4 separate regions of the Homo sapiens genome follow, and all the other regions are linked to region 4. Evidence: promoter capture Hi-C in human tissues and cell types (Jung and others, 2019). All regions are on one chromosome and are shown on one strand. Each heading gives the region's core, a stretch centred on a gene start or on the middle of the fragment in contact. The rest is flanking DNA. Distances are from core to core; before and after follow the strand shown. Region 1 overlaps TANC2 (tetratricopeptide repeat, ankyrin repeat and coiled-coil containing 2). Region 2 overlaps DCAF7 (DDB1 and CUL4 associated factor 7). Region 3 overlaps KCNH6 (potassium voltage-gated channel subfamily H member 6). Region 4 holds the start of MRC2 (mannose receptor C-type 2).

Region 1 (4,014 bases), core at 1,328-3,827, 730 kb before region 4:
GCCCTGCTGCAGCAGCCAGCGTGCCTGGTTGTGCAGTGGCTGGACCCCATGCTCTCTTGTCCACACACTGCTCACTGTTCTGTGCCTGGCTCACCCTTGGGAGGTGTGGGATCTGGGCCAGTAGCACGAGCTGAGTGCAGCCTGCTGAGCTGAGTAGGCAGAACGATCCCAAAGGGTGTGAGCAATACTCAGGCAGAAGGCTCTGTCAGCCACAGAGGTTTCTGGCTGGCAAAGCAACACCCCAAAGATCCTGTGACACTACCATACGATCCAGCAATCCCAGTCCTATGTATATACCCAAAAGAAAGGAAATCAGTATATTGAAGAGATATCTGCAGTTTCATGTTTGTTACAGCACTACTCACAACAGCCAAGATTTGGAAGTAACTTAAGTGTCCACCAACAGACAAATGGATAAACAAAATGTGGTGCATATACACAACGGAGTATTATTCAGCCATAAAAAAGAATGAGGCCCTGTCATTTACAACAACATGGATGGAACTGGAGGTCATTACGTTAAGTGAAATAAGCCAGGCACTGAAAGACAGACATTGCGTGTTCTCACTTATCTGTCAGAGCTAAAAATTAAAATAATTGAACTCATGGAGATAGAGAGTAGGGGAAGGTTACCAGCTAGGAAGGGTAGTCAGGACTGGGGAGGGGTTGGTGGAAAGGGGGGGCATGGCTAATGGGTACAAAACATAGAAAGAATAAATAAGACCTAGAATTTGCTGGCACAACAAGGTGACTAGAGTAAAAAATAATTTAATCAAACATTTAAAAATAACTAAAAGAGTATAATTGGATTGTGTGAAACACAAAGGATAACTGCTTGAGGTGATGGATATTTTACCCTGATGTGATTATTACACACTGCATGCCTATATCAAAATATCTCATGTAACCATATATATATATATGTATGTATGTATATACCATGTACCCACAAAAATTAAAAATTAAAAAAAAATTGAAAGTGTGAATAAAAGATGTCTGGTACATTCTCTTTTCTCTGCTTTAACTCTTCCAAGCCTCCTAAGGGTTGATTTAGTTCTAAGAGGCCCTTTTTCCTTCCCATGCTTCATCATTTTGCTGAATTCTCTCCTAATGCTTTGAGAAAGCAGAACCCATCCTCCAGTTTAAGGGTCTGCTCTGGGAGCCTGCAATGGCTATCAGGAGCAGTGACCTCAAGTTTGTGCTTCAGTGAGGGTAAGGTTAATTGTCATCTTGCCTGGAGGCTCATATTTAGATTTAAAAAACAAAATCAACACAAACTTCAACTCACCATTTATTTTGTAGTCATTTCAACCCCATCTATTCTATAAGAAGCCCTGTTATACAGACCTCTGGCACAGTTATTTTTCACTTTGGGGAGGACACCCTCTCTTTTTCCTTAGACAAACTGCTTGTTCTCTGACACCCTGCTTTGTGGCAATGGATTTTGGAGCATCAGGTCTCCAACGTGTAATTCACTTACTAATATGGTCAAATAAATTAGGAAAAACCTCGACAAACCACTTATTATAAGCAATCAATTCTGGTCATAAAGAATCAAGTAAGTACTCAACTATCCCATGGTATAGGTAGGATTTGTGTCGCCTTTTCCCTTTCCATTCATCACAGGATTTGCTGTCTTTAATTTGAGGAAATCAGGTCAAACCAAATTAGGCTCCCACATCACAACCTTAGGCTCCCACATCACAATCTCATTAGGTTGTATCAACTCAACACTCATTACATGAAGTTCACAACAAGCTTCTTGTATCTTATTCAAACATTTAAAAATAAGGCTGGCTAGGCTGGGCACGGTGGCTTATGCCTGTAATCCTAGCACTTTGGGAGGCTGAGGTGGGCAGACCACCTGAGGTCAGGAGTACGAGACCAGCCTGGCCAAATTGGTGAAACTCCGTCTCTACTAAAAATACAAAAAAGTTAGCCGGGCAAGGTAGCAGGTACCTGTAATATCCCAGCTACTTGGGAGGCTGAGGCAGGAGAATTGCTTGAACTCAGGAGGCAGAGGTTGCAGTGATGTGAAATCGCATCACTGCACTCTAGCCTGGGTGACAGGACACTCTGTCTCGAAAAAAAAAAAAAAATGCTGGTGCAGTAGCTCATCCCTGTAATCCCAGCACTTTGGGAGGACAAGGTGGGTGGATGGCTTGAACCTGAGTTTGAGACCAGGAACACAGTAAGACTCTTTCTCTACAAACAAAAAAAATTAGGCATGGTGGCATGTGCCTGTGGTCACAGTTACACAGGAAGCTAAGGTAGGAGGATTGCCAGAGCCCAGGAGGTTGAGACTTCAGTGAGCCGTGACTGTGCCACTGCACTCCAGCCTGAGTGACAGAGTGAGATACTGTATTAAAAAAATAAAAACAAACCCCACAAAAATACACACATAATAACGCAGTAGTCTTTTAATCTCTGGCAAAATCTTACACACACACACACACACACACACACACACAAATATTAATCTGAGAGCCGTTCCTATGGAAGGGAAAGTTAGATATCATGAAAATTGAGAAAATGAGGAATAGAAACAGAACAGAGTGGAGATTTATTCAGGGCGAGCCTAAAGCGATATAGAAATATTAAGCAGTAACTGGACTGCACCACAAGGCTGGTAGCTCCGACTGTCTACTCTATCAGCCTTAAATTTCTACTATGAGAGTCACTAAAAGGTTGCCTAACAAAGGCCGATGACTACTTCTCTCAAATGTCTTATTTTAAATGCACAAGTTGCCTCAAATAGGTTTTCCATCTCTTTACTATTAGCATAATAGCAGGAATTCGCTTATTAAATTAGTGAGTTAATCTGATATCTCCGTGCCCAAGAGAATAAAACATAGGACAGATTAAGTTCAGGGTATGTCAGAAGGCTGACAGTGATGAACAGTGGGAAACAGAGAGCAGAATGAGGTGGTATGGTCTAAGGTTTGTGATTGCTTCAAGGGGCATATTTTACCTAAACTGCAAATCTAAAAGATTCTTCAGTGATACTCTGCTTACAGTTTGATACACACACACATACACACACACACACACACACACACACACACACATACTCTCTCTCTCTCTCTCTCTCTCTCACTCTACTCACCTTGTTACTCATTTATTTCTATGACAATGAGACAACGATACATCTATGTAACGTTAGGTCATTCTCTCTGGTAGGTCAAGTCCTTGCCCAGATTCTGAGACAATAAGCAGTCTGGTATTCAAAATAATGAAAACTCAATCTCAGCTGTAGCATTAACCTCTGGCTCTGCTATTTCCTGCTTCCAGCACCATTCTCAGATTACTGACTCTTTTCAGCTCAGGCAGAAGCAACCTCCTTGGGTAGCCTATTTCTGGAGAAGATCAACTACTTTTTGGCAATTGAGTGCTGAAAGCCCAGGAAAATGGACTAAAAAGGGTAAGAATGTTGTGTTGCCTCTGGAAGCTCTCCTTACACCACAGAGATGTACATGTCAGGCACTGGCTTACCTGGTGTGATTTCAGAGGCACTGAATTGGTCTTCTTTGATCTACTGAAAGATGCTTTAGAGAGAAGGAGAGAAAGTGGAGAACAGAAGGAGAAACAATGTGCAAGAAGTGGAGGCTGAAGGCCACAAAGACAAACCATGCCTGGAGAGAGTCCTGCTAATCAGACCTGCCTGAAATGGAAAACAAGTGCAGCCAGCTGCTTTGAAAGACCAGCTTGGGCTTTGCCAATAGCATTAAATTCTTAGTGAATTTCCATCTCATTGACCTAGGGAGCCTTAAGCACTGAGATCAATACTTCAGTACTTTAGTAACAAGGTTGGTGCCAGCCATTGCTGGGGAGGGGGCTGAGTTCCAACTGAAATGAAATCTAAGAAAGCTTTTTTTGATAACTCCTGGTCCTGTTTACAATTTTACTCTCTGCCATTAAGTGAAATAAGATGATCTCTCAGCAGCCATGCTATTCAATCATCAGGGAACGGATTATACAGGATTTGAAGTTGGAAGTACCTGCTCCTCTTGTCCC
Region 2 (3,777 bases), core at 659-3,158, 970 kb before region 4:
AACAATGAGCCTTGGAAGCTAAAGACTGGCTACAAATATCATTCCATTAGGTTTGACCATGTGTTGTCCAGTACTAACAGCTCTCAATGAATGAGATTACATTAGTTATTAGTCCAGATACTTAGCCGATTTGCTAGTATGGCTGAGACATAATTATTCACTACTTCACTTCCTTTTCCAGGGTACACAGGAAGACTACATTTCTTGACTTGACCTTCCTTGCAGTTGGCAGATAGGAGCAAAAGTGAGTAAGCCACTTCCCGGCCCATCCTGAAAAATGTACTCCCTCCCACCCCCCATAAGCAACCTGGAGGTCACACGTTTATTTTTATTTTTTGAGATGGAGTCTTGCTCTGTTGCCCAGGCTGAAGTGCAGTGGTGCGATCTTGGCTCACTGCAACCTCCACCTCCCGGGTTCAAGCTATTCTCCTGCCTCAGCTTCCCAAGTAGCTGGGACAACAGGCGTGTGCCACCATGCCTAGCTAATTTTTGTATTTTTAGTAGAGATAGGGTTTCACCATGTTGGCCAGGCTGGTCTCGAACTCCTGACCTCAAGCTATCTGCCCCTCCCTCCCCCCTCAGCCTTCCAAAGTGCTGGGATTAGAGAGTTGAGCCACTGCACCCGGCCCAGAGGACTTTGTGTAAGCAAAAAATAAGCTTTTGTAGTGCTCAGTTTCTGAGATTTGGGGGTTTGTTGCCGCAGCATAGGCTAGCCTATAAATAGTATTACTCTCTGTTTTCTCCTTAAAAACCAGAGAGCAGGACTCATGTGTTTCTCACAAAATATACATTGTCAGACCATATAGCAGCACAGTTCCAAAGGACCAGCAGGTACTCATAAAACTTAAATTCTCTGCCAGGCACGGTGGCTCACGCCTGTAATCCCAGCACTTTGGGAGGCCGAGGTGGGTGGATCATCTGAGGTCGGGAGTTTGAGACCAGCCTGACCAACATGATGAAACCCCATCTCTACTAAAAATATAAAATTAGCCAGGCGTGGTGGCACATGCCTGTAGTCCCAGCTACTCAGGAGGCTGAGACAAGAGAATCGCTTGAACCCGGGAGACGGAGGTTGCGATGAGCCGAGATCGCGCCATTGCACTCCAGCCTGGGCAACAAGAGCGAAATTCTGTCTGAAAAAAAAAAAAAATTAAATTCTCAAGAGCACATACTTCCCTTCACAGATCCACTGCCACCGGCTCCATATCAGCTGACACAATGGCAGGTACTTACCGAATACAGGTTCACGGAACCAATCAGTTTGCCTTTCTTCTCTTCCTTCACAGTGGCCCAACATGAAGAATAAAAATATAAATAAATGGGGGTAGTATTTCATCCAGGACACACAGCATTTGAAGAGCAGTGGGATAGGAACTCCCCCACCCTACCGTGTGGGGCATAGGTTTGGGAAATTAGCAGGGACTTGGACATTCCTAGTCAGCCATCAGAACCTGTCCAAATCCAAAAGATCTGGGAGTTATTTCTCTGTCCTCCTTCACAATCAATAAATTACTAAATGCTGATGACTGCATCCCTCTTTACTTGTGCCCTGTCCTCTCCATCCTTGCCGTGGCTGCTGCTGCCGCCGCCGCCTTAGTTCAGGGTTTTTCTCTCACCCTATAAGAAGGAAGAGGCACTTTTTCATTGCCTATCCTTCTAAAATGCAATTCTGATGACTCCTCTCTGTGTATGTTTTCCAGGATCATACAGAAGTGTAATGTCTAAAATTTCTGCAAAGCGGGAGACTTTCCCTGCCCTGGCTCCTGTATACATCTCTAGCTACATTTCCCACTATTCACCCCACCTCAACCTGCAATTCTCTAAATATGACCATACTTTCTTGCCTCCATAGATTTGCACATGGGTGTTCTCTCTGCCTTAAAGGACATTCCCTATTTCCAGATAACTCCTACTCAGCCTTCAAAACCCAGCTTAGGCATCCATCTTAAGTAGTTTTCGCTGACCCCATGTGGCTCCCACACAGGCAGAGGTGATCACCTCCTCCTGAGGGGTGATGCCTAAACACATCCATTATCGCACAACAATGCAAGTTATTTGGTTTTTTTGTTTTTTGTCTTTTAAAAATTTGGGTGGGAGGGGGTAGGGATAAAAGACTACCAATTGGGTACAGTGTACACTGCTCCGGTGATGGGTGCACCAAAATCTCAGAAATCATCATTAAAAAAACTTATTATCCACATAACCAAAAACCACTTGTTCCCCCAAAACTATTAAAATAAAATAAATGCCAGGTGCGGTGGCTCACACCTGTAATCCCAACACTTTGGGAAGCTGAGGCAGGCGTATCACAAGGTCAGGAGTTCGAGACCAACCTGACCAACACGGTGAAACCCCGTCTTTACTAACAATACAAAAATCAGTCGGGTGTTGTGGCACATGCCTGTAATCTCAGCTACTCAGGAGGCTGAGGCAGGAGAATAGCTTGAACCGGGAGGTGGAGGTTGCAGTGAGCCGAGATCGCGCCATTGCACTCCAGCCTGGGTGACAGAGCGAGACCCCGTCTCAAAAAAAGAAAAAAGAAATGCAAAAAAAAAGATTTGTCTTAGATCTTAGTCTGGCTAAAAGAAATTTTTTTTTTTTTTAATAAAAATGACTGATTGATTGAGACAGGGTCTTGCTATGTTGCCAAGGCTGGTCTTGAACTCCTGGCCTCAAGTGATCCTCCCACCTCAGCCACCCCCATGCCTCAGCTGGGATCACAGACCACTGTGCCCGGCCACAAGTATTTATGTAGATGTCTCCTCTGGTAGACTGCAACCAACTTGAGGGCCATGTCCCCTGGCATAGAGGAGGTGCTCCACTGAATTAACAAGTGAATGACTAAATAGGATATAAAAGGTGATGAGTAGACTGCCCGGCTCGGGCTGGGGCACTGCCACTGTCTATGGAACATGACCAAAGTGACAAAATGGGAAGAACTGAATTCGTCACAAAAAGAAATTCAGTCAATCTATACATGTTCAAGTTTTATTACAAAGTATGATGGGCAGAAAATACGGTACTTCTTATACAGGAGGCTGAAACAGAATGAAAGGGTGAAAATTAGGTTTAATTTACTTAGGAAACAAGAAATAGAAAGTCATAGCTATAACACTCCACTTTCAGGTGCCCATGAAGTAGCCTTCAATGGAGATTCCCCATAGTTGTTTCACAGCACAGTGTTAAAATTTTATTACAAGCCCTGTGTACAATCAGTCCTGTGAAAATATTTATAAAAGAAAAATATTACAGTACAGTTCTGCAAGGGGCAGCTTCCTCTACACCTGACCGTGGATGCCACAAAACCTATAATATAGAGGGAAAGTTTAAATATATAACAAGAATGGAAGTTCAGACATACTAGGCTAAAGGACACAGAAATGGATCAGTTAGAGCTTAACATTTCAGAGCAAGAAATCTCCATTTTCTACATAGAGGTTTATACAATCATGCTACAAATTCACTCTGGGTGGGGTGGGGAAGGAAGGTCACTGACAAGAGGGGTAGTAAAATACACAGGAACCAAAGCAAGTGAGTCAGACTCAACTAAATCGATTCAAAGCTTCAGCTCAACAATTTTCATAACACATGGTATACCACAATCAACCCAAGGTGAGAACATTTCTTTTAAATAGTAGATATCACATGTTCATAATCACTGGGTTGTCCCAAAGGTGGGTGCCTATAAACTTTCCAGCTGTTACATAGACTGTCAACATCTTTCTTCTTGAGTTTAAACTTTCTTTAGCTTATTTGTTTCTCGTTGGATATACCAGT
Region 3 (3,812 bases), core at 788-3,287, 910 kb before region 4:
GGGCCAAGGCTCCAGCTCTGGGTCTAGAGAGGGAGCCCCTCTCCACTCATGGAGTGGGGTGGCGCTGGGGAGGCAGGATGGAGAGGACATGGGAGGGGTAGGAGGCTGGGCAGGGGCTACAGGCTGGTGGGGGTGGGGGCTGGCTTTGCTCACCTGACTGGTTGTCACTGAGAAAGAAACCTTGGTGGTCTTGGCTGCCAGGAGCCTGTCGGGGGGATGAGTGGAGACCCCCGGCTGCCTTATGGGAAGCAAGAGGGTGAAATAACAGGAACCAAAGCTGGGATGGGGCCTCTTTGTTCTTCCCTGCCCTGACCCCATGGTGCTGTCACAACTAGGTGAAAGAATGACAAGCAGCTGGGCACAGCAGCGATGCCCTGGACGACTTCCTGCAGGTGGCCCAGGCTGCAGAGACCACACCCCTCCTGTCCTGGTGCCCAGCTGCTGGGCATTCTGGCCACCTGATGGCTGGGGGCCGAGGGCAGAGTCCTAACCTGTCAGTCTCCTGTGCAGATCGCGGGAGGGAGGGGAGAAACTGAGGAGGGGGAGAGGGGATGGTGTGGGGAGGGCTGTCCACAGCCAGAAAGCCCACCCAGCTCTATGCTCAGGAAGCTGGGCACAGGGCCTACGCCAGCAGGGCCCTCCCCCAAGGTGGAGGGGCGGGGCACCAGGGAAGAAATAGCCCGGGCTCTGTGTTTCCCTGCCAGATGCACACTCCCTTCTTCCCATTAGTTTCCTCCTCCGTGATACCCCGCTCTGGGCATTCCCAGGTCGGTCCTGGCTGTCCCACTCCTTAGCAAGCTTGAGCTCCACATGGCTTCTCCTTTATACCTTCGTGACTTTGGCTGTTTTACTTTGTGGCTCTTTATTTTTCTTGAGTTGTCAAAATCTCCTCTACTGAGGGATGAGCATGAGAAGAGACAGCTTTGTCACCTCTTGGCAGCCCCTGTGTCTGGCACTGTGAGCCCTCTGGACAGAAGGCACCCCCTTTTTCAGCTTGGTATGATGTAGTAGGAATGCCTGGGCTTTGGAGTCAGACAAATTAAATTCACATTTTGGCTCTGCCGTTGACTAGCTGAATGGCTTTGGCCAATTTATTTATTGTCTCTAATCCTCAGTTTCCTCATCTGAAAATTGGGGATAATAATACCATTTGCAAGAAGATCATGTAAAAGAAGCCCCACCCTTAGCACCCTACTGCTTAATAAATAGTAGCTATCCTCATACTTAGCATGACGCCAGCCATGGTAGGCACAAAAGAAATTATGGCAAAGGTTGCAGGATGGGGTTGAAAGGAAGGGTGTTGGTCAGATGGGTGCCCTCAGGCCAGGCAGGCTGCCTGGGCATTTCCACCCACCCTGGCCCACCTGGCCCTGACTCACGTCCCGCAGGTTGAAGGTGACCTCCAGCTTACTCCAGAAGCTCTCCGCAAAGGCCGGGTACATGTCCAGCACCTCCAGCAGATCTGCCCGCTGGATCTTGTGCAGGTCGCAGTAGGTCAGAGCCCGCACGTCTGCACTGGACTTGCCTGGCTGGGCATGGAGGCTGACGGGTTCCCCAAAGATGTCATTCTTTCCTGCCAGCCAGAGGGGTGGGAGTCTCTTCAGGGTCTGACTCCATGCTCCCTTATGAGGGTCCTTTGACCGTGACCTCCCCCAACCTCGGACATCCTTCTAGGCCGGGGCCTGCTGCCTGGGATAGAGCTCTGGGGACATGGCTGGATGTGCTGGCTGTGGGTGGCAGGGTAGGGGTGGGGCTGTTCTCTTCCTGTGTCCTTTGAGCGGCACAGAGATCCGGCGTGTGGCTCCTCTCACTGTCTCCAGGCCCTTCAGAACCACCCTCCATCAGAATCTCCCTCCTGTAGCCCATACTCTTTGGCACAGTGGGCAGGAAGGGGCCCTAAAGGCTCAACATCTGTCTCAACGTCTTCCTGCTGCTTGGCCTGCCAGTGCTGTGGAGCAGGGTGCAGGGAACCCAGGGCCAGAGCACCTAACTCCGCCAGGGCAGGGCCAGAGGCTTCTCTGTCTTCCCACTCCCAATTGTGGGGCCAGGTAACCAGCATGGCCCTGGTGAAGGAAGCTTGGGGAAGTTACTCCCCCTGTCTAGACCCCAGAGTCTTCATCTCTAAAATGGATAAAACCTGATCTGCCTTGCCAACCCCACTGGACTGTTCAGGGAAGCAGATGAGGTGATGCTTGAGAAAGTGACTCAAAAAGCAACAGGCAGCAGGGCTCAGCGGCTCACGCCTGTAATCCCAGCACTTTGGGAGGCTGAGGGTAGTGGATTATTTGAGGTCGGTTCGAGACCAGTCTGGCCAACACGGTGAAACCGCATCTCTACTAAAAACAACAACAGCAAAAACAAAAATTAGCAGGGCATGGTGGCCTGTAATCCCAGCTACTCGGGAGGCTGAGGCAGAAGAATCACTTGAACCCGGGAGGCAGAGTTTGCAGGGAGCTGAGATCACACCACTGTACTCCAGCCTGGGTGACAGAGCGAGACTCCATCTCAAAAAAAAAAAAAAAAAAAAGCAAGAGGCACCTGACTAGGTCCATGCAAGGCAAGGGGGAATATCCCAGGGTAGACATGGGTGATGTTCAGGTATGTGGTATGTGGCAAGGGTACTGGGCCCTCCTGGTGCCAGGTGCTGTGCTGGCCAAAGGATATAAATATAAGATGTTGTGCCACCCACAAGGACCCTCCCAAATCCCTGCAAGATAGGTACGTAAGCAGCCAACAAGTTTACAGCATGATCTGTAGAGCCCTAGAAACAGGAAGAACCAAGAGTTATGGGGCCATGGAGGAGGGAGGGGCTCCTCCTGCCAGGGGTGGCTGGGGCAGAGAGGAGGGGGCTTACAGAGGAAGTGAAGTGGGGGCTGTGTCGAGAGAAACAAGGACCAGCCCCCATGAGAAAGGCAGTCAGGACAGAAGAAACAGCATGTGATCAGCACTGCACTGTCAGGGCTCAGGGGTGGAGAGCCCAGGGCCGGGGTGCCACGGAGCATGACTGCTTTGATTCCCACTCCCCCAGAAAGTCCACTTGTTAGTGCAAGTGGCAGTAACAGTTTAGCACAGAAGGATGGGTGGAGGCTGAGACATGTCCCCACAAGAGAACAGGATCAAAGGGTATTCACAAAGGAGGGGGCTGAGGCCTGGAGAGGGAAGCGGCTTGCCAGGGTCACACATGAAACCCTGAAGCTTGAAATCTGGGCAACATTATAATGTGATGGTTTTCCAGTAGATGAAAGATTCTGATCTAGTGTCTTTTTCTACTCAGGACAAAATGAGAGGTTTCATGTCTCTAACTGAAACTTAAATTGGATTAACTTCTTAATTATTAATAATAATAATCATCCCTCCCATGTGATGGCACTTTTTTTTTTTAAAGACAGAGTCTCGCTCTGCCACCCAGGCTGGAGTACAGTGGCGTGATCTTGGTTTACTGCAATTTCCACCTCCTGGGTTCAAGCAATTCTCTGCCTCAGCCTCCCAAGTAGCTGGGATTACAGGCACCCGCCACCATGCCGGGCTAATTTTTTGTATTTCTAGTAGGGATGGGGTTTCATCATCTTGGCCAGGTTGGTCTTGAACTCCTGACCTTGTGATCACCCACCTCGGCCTCCCAAAGTGCTGGGATTACAGGCATGAGCCACCGTGCCTGGCCATGGATGGCACGTCTAAGGTAGGCTGGGAGTGAGGGAAGGTCTCATACAGAAACCTGTGCCTAAGCCCAGCCTTGGAGGACAACTGGGATCTGCCGGACTGGCACAGGGTAGGGCGCTCCAGGCAGAATGGCAGCACATGCAAGGGCACAG
Region 4 (4,042 bases), core at 853-3,352:
CCAACAACAACGTAATTCACCAGGTACTAGGGGCTGCCAGCTCTTCGGGCAAGGAATTCGGCCCAGAGGCTCTGAACAGGCTTCCCAGGGTAGGGCCCAGTGGAATTTGGCAGGGCAGGGGCAAGCGCACTCTGTGCAGAGGGCACGGTTCCGAGGGAAGGAACCTGCAGCAGCTCCATCCTCCTCCTGCTCAGCTGCTGCTGGAAGACCTCACACTGCCTGCCACCCAGATCCAAGCCTCCTCAGGGTGTGGTCAATGCAGTGCCAACGGGAAGGGGACCCTCTGAGGCTATTCATCCCTGGACACAGCCCCAGGGAGGGCCAGGCACAGAGACCAGGAGGAGGAGGGACACTCCAGGCGTCCTTGTCCTCCCTGACCGGGCCTCTCACCAGGCACTTCCAGCCCCCTCTATGAAAAGCTCCAGGGGGAAAGGCCGAGTCAGCACTCTGGCCACAACTCTCTCCCAGGGCCTGGCTTTAAAGTGTGCTCTGGAGCTCTGGGAATGGCCATCCTCCCCACCCCTTCCCACCGCCTGCCTCCTGAGGCCCTGCGCAGAGGAGCAGAGGAAGGCAGGAGTGCGAGGAGGTAGGGGAACTGCCTGTGAGGCCGCCCTGCAGTGGGTTAGGGGGTTACCCGGCCTGGTTTGTGTCTGTCCCACATTCAATGCCAGGTGGGCCCAGAATTGCCCCGGGGGTCTCCGGTTGGTGTGAATGTGGGTCACCGTGGCCCCCACCTTTCCCATCTGGCAGATATGTGTCTTGTGCCTACGTCACGCCAGGCCAACCCAGCAAGCACGGGCCAGGCTGGAGGCCCCAGACTCTCCAGGGGGCTGTCTGGTCCTTGCACAAAACTGCAGACACTGCACGGACTGTCCCCATCCCCCAATTAAACAGCCAGCAGGACCAAGCTGGGCCGGGCGATTCCCCCGGTCACTCCAGACACCCCCACCCCCACTCCCCCAGGAAGTGGATCTTTCCTTTCAACTCTTAGATTCTTGGCGAGGGATCTGTCTGTCCCCACACTTCACTGTTACCCCTGAATAAGGAGCAGGAAGAGAATGGCACAGTTTTGGGGTTTTCTGATTTTTGTTTTGTTTCCTGTTCGTTGGGTTTTAAAATCTTTAGCAGCTCTTTTGCCGCTCAAGGTCTGTCCCCTCTGGAGGGCCACTAGTGTGCCCAGAGCTGCCCACGCTACGCAACATCACAGCACGGCGGCGCCCAGCCTGTTGCTGCGTCCCAGTGGCAGGAGCCTCCTCACAGGGCTGCCGAGCTCACGCGGGGCGGATGCCGCGCGCCACAAGCCTCCTTGAAGACTAAGTGTGGAAAAGAAAATATCAACGCCCACGAGATGCAGGGGGCGGGGGGAAGGTGGGGGAAACGAACCCTCGCGGATAGTTGGAAAGCCGTCCTAACGCATCAGTCCTGGGGCAGAGCGAGGAGACTGGGCCCGGGAACTCCCGGACAGAGAGCCCTGGCTCCCCGGGCGCGCCCTGCAGGTCCCCTGCCGAGGACGGGCCGGCGCCGGGTGGTCCGGGAGCGCGGTGCGCGGGGGTCCTCAAGAGCCCACCCGCTTCCTCCTAGGCTGCTGGAGTCCCCCGGGCTCCCCTCCCCCGCCGCCCGCCACATCTGGTTCCACTCAGGTCCTCCCCCACCTCTAGGCGCGCTCCTCCTCCCCTCTCCTCCCCCGCTTTCAGAAAAGCGGAGACGAGTTTTAAAAACCCAGTCACACACACACGCACACACGCTTCTGGAGAAAAGAGGGGGGAAAAGGAGGGAAAAGTCGAGAGCGGCCCGCGCCTCGGCGCTCCCCCCGCCCGGGCCCTGAAGTTGGCCAAGTTGGCAGCGCCTTACCCGGGAGGGCGGCGTCCCCAGGGGCGCCGGGACGGCCGAGGTGCAGGCACCCGAGGAGCAGGACGCAGCGCAGCAGGTGACGAGGCCAGGGCGCGGGGGCCGGCCGGCCGGGCCCCATCCCCGAGCGCGGCGCTCAGTGGACGCGGGGACCGAGGGCGCACAGGCGCAACGCGCTGTGGCAGCCCCGAGGCTGGGCTGTGATGACCGCCCGCAAGGGGCTCGCGTCCTCCTCCGGGTCGGGACGAAGTGATGCCTCCCGGGGAGGAGGAGGGAGGAGGCAGCCCGGGCGGAGGGAGGGCGGAGGGAGGAGCGCAGAACCGGGGAGGAGGGTTCGAGGGGTAGAGGGGAAGGGAAGTGGGCAGCGTGGGAGGGGAAGGGGAGGAGGCGCGGGTCTGGGGCTAGAGCGTCGGGAGGGAGAGAAAGGGGTGGCGGAGAGGAGGACACGCCGGGTCCAGGAGGACCCCAGCGTGCGCCCTTTCTCTTGCTGCTCTGTTTCCCAGTCTCTCCCCGCCTCGCCTTCCCTCTCTTCTGTCCCGGCCAGGATCCCCAGACGCTGCGTCACAACTCCCCCGCTGGCGCGGGCGGGGAAGCAACTGCAAAACTTTCCGCAAACTTCACGGCGTGGTGGGACCTGGGCTACGAGGTCCGGCCAGCCCGGGGCGGGGGCGTGCAGCTGACCCAGGTGGCCAGACCCGGGCCGCCAGCATCCGCCCCGCCATCCCGCCTCTTTCTGCGGGCGTCTCCAGCAGCCTAGCATCCCCTACCTCCATGCCGAGGAGGACCCCTCCCCCGGTCTGGTGGGGAAGGGGCGGAGCCCAGGGCCTGGCCACCAGGGCGAAGATTGGGGGAGGGGGAGGCAGAGCCCTTGTTACGTGTGCGGAGCGCAACAATTCTTGCACGTCTTGTTTTAGCATTTTCGTGACCCCTGTGTCAGTGTTCCCGGTGCAGGAGTGTAGCACTTTTGCTTGTTGGGGCTGCATCCAGAAACCTGGGGAAAATCTGTCCACTGGACGTCTCAGAAGACCGGCATCATCACTCCCACCAACTGGACTGCTGGCCGGTAGCAAAAGACCAGCTGGAAATTTCATAAAAGGTTAGACAATCCACAGTTACTCAGTGTTACGCAACAGGTCTCTGCAGCACAGAGCACGAACTGGGGAGTCAGGATGCTGGAGTCCAGCCCTGCCTCTCTGCGGATTCCCTGCCTGACCTTGGGAAAGCCTCTTGGGGTCTCGGGGCATAGGGCAGGACTGAGACGTTGAGACCCCAAGTGCAAAGAAGACACATTTCTCCTACCACGAGTAATCAAAAACACTATGAAACTGTAATATGGGCCGGGTGCGGTGGCTCACGCCTGTAATCACACTTTCGGAGGCCGAGGAGATTGAGCCCAGGAGTTGAAGACCAGCCTGGGCAACATAGGCAGATCCCATCTCATTTTGTTAATATAAAATTTTTAAATAATAATAAAACTGTAATATAAATTGTATTGTTTCCTATCTTGTCCACCTTGGTATGTTTTTTGGAAATAAATTCAATTTTTTTCCTTTTTATTCCTCCTATCTTGGGTAAATGTTTCCCCAACTCTGCAGTGGGGGTGTTGGGTCAGAAATGCTCACTCGTCTCTTCCCATCTCTGTCAGGCTGAGGCTCTTGGTAAACAGTCCAGTGGTAATAGAGCCTCGAAGCAAGCCCCCACTGAAATCCCCTAGAGGCCCCTGGAAAGGGTCCCATTAGCCACCCTTTGGTTAGCAGCCAGACCAACAAAGCCCCTGCACTCCACGGCTAGCTTCAGCAGGTCCGACAGGGCCAGGTCCCTTCTGGTGGCTGTGGCTCCACTGCCCCTTGGGACATGTCTTCTTGGTGTGGCATGTTCTGGGATCTCAGTCCTCTGCACACAACAGGCCATGCTGGAGCTGCCTCAGAGGTCCCCCTCTTGGCCTTCCCTCTTGCACAATCCTGTAATCTCTGAAGGATTTAAGGATTTGCCGGCTAAGCTGCTCTCTCGCTCTCAGAACACAGGATACTCCTTCCCCTGAAACAGGGCTGGATTCCCCCTTCTCCAGCAGCTTGAGTAGGTTTCGGCGTTTCCTGCTGGCCTTCCCTCCTACTATCAGTGGCAGGACAGAAGCCCACCCCTTGACATCACCAGCGCAGAGCATGAGGCCAGAGAGCCCACCACTTGCCGGCAC

The links. Contacts are between HindIII fragments. The study calls those that stand out against the background at their distance.
Region 1: a contact is called between a fragment that was not itself captured here and the fragment with the promoter of MRC2 in region 4, in 1 of the 25 tissues and cell types used here (dorsolateral prefrontal cortex).
Region 2: a fragment that was not itself captured here is called in contact with the fragment with the promoter of MRC2 in region 4 in 1 of the 25 tissues and cell types used here (dorsolateral prefrontal cortex).
Region 3: a fragment that was not itself captured here is called in contact with the fragment with the promoter of MRC2 in region 4 in 1 of the 25 tissues and cell types used here (dorsolateral prefrontal cortex).

The regions. Positions count from the first base shown.
Region 1 is chr17:63,357,434-63,361,447 of GRCh38, reverse strand. The region is part of intron 14 of TANC2 (tetratricopeptide repeat, ankyrin repeat and coiled-coil containing 2); the gene reads right to left. Among named protein-coding and RNA genes, the nearest start is that of CYB561, 87 kb to the left of the region's middle. RefSeq lists enhancers at 1-4, 5-505. The HindIII fragment of the contact is 3,521 bases long and covers 817-4,014 here.
Region 2 is chr17:63,593,464-63,597,240 of GRCh38, reverse strand. DCAF7 (DDB1 and CUL4 associated factor 7) reads right to left here. Exons shown (of 7, transcript NM_005828.5): 7 at 2,975-3,777. Among named protein-coding and RNA genes, the nearest start is that of TACO1, 5.5 kb to the left of the region's middle. The HindIII fragment of the contact is 6,157 bases long and covers 1-3,777 here.
Region 3 is chr17:63,540,002-63,543,813 of GRCh38, reverse strand. KCNH6 (potassium voltage-gated channel subfamily H member 6) reads right to left here. Exons shown (of 13, transcript NM_001278919.2): 9 at 1,380-1,573; 10 at 154-238. Among named protein-coding and RNA genes, the nearest start is that of DCAF7, 8.6 kb to the left of the region's middle. The HindIII fragment of the contact is 1,199 bases long and covers 1,438-2,636 here.
Region 4 is chr17:62,625,730-62,629,771 of GRCh38, reverse strand. MRC2 (mannose receptor C-type 2) reads right to left here and starts at 2,102. Exons shown (of 30, transcript NM_006039.5): 1 at 1,852-2,102. The coding sequence starts at 1,969. LOC107985020 (a long non-coding RNA gene) reads left to right here and starts at 1,722. Exons shown (of 2, transcript XR_001752961.3): 1 at 1,722-1,927; 2 at 2,763-3,335. RefSeq lists silencers at 1,473-1,542, 1,743-2,182 and enhancers at 3,376-3,876, 3,877-4,042. The HindIII fragment of the contact is 9,538 bases long and covers 1-4,042 here.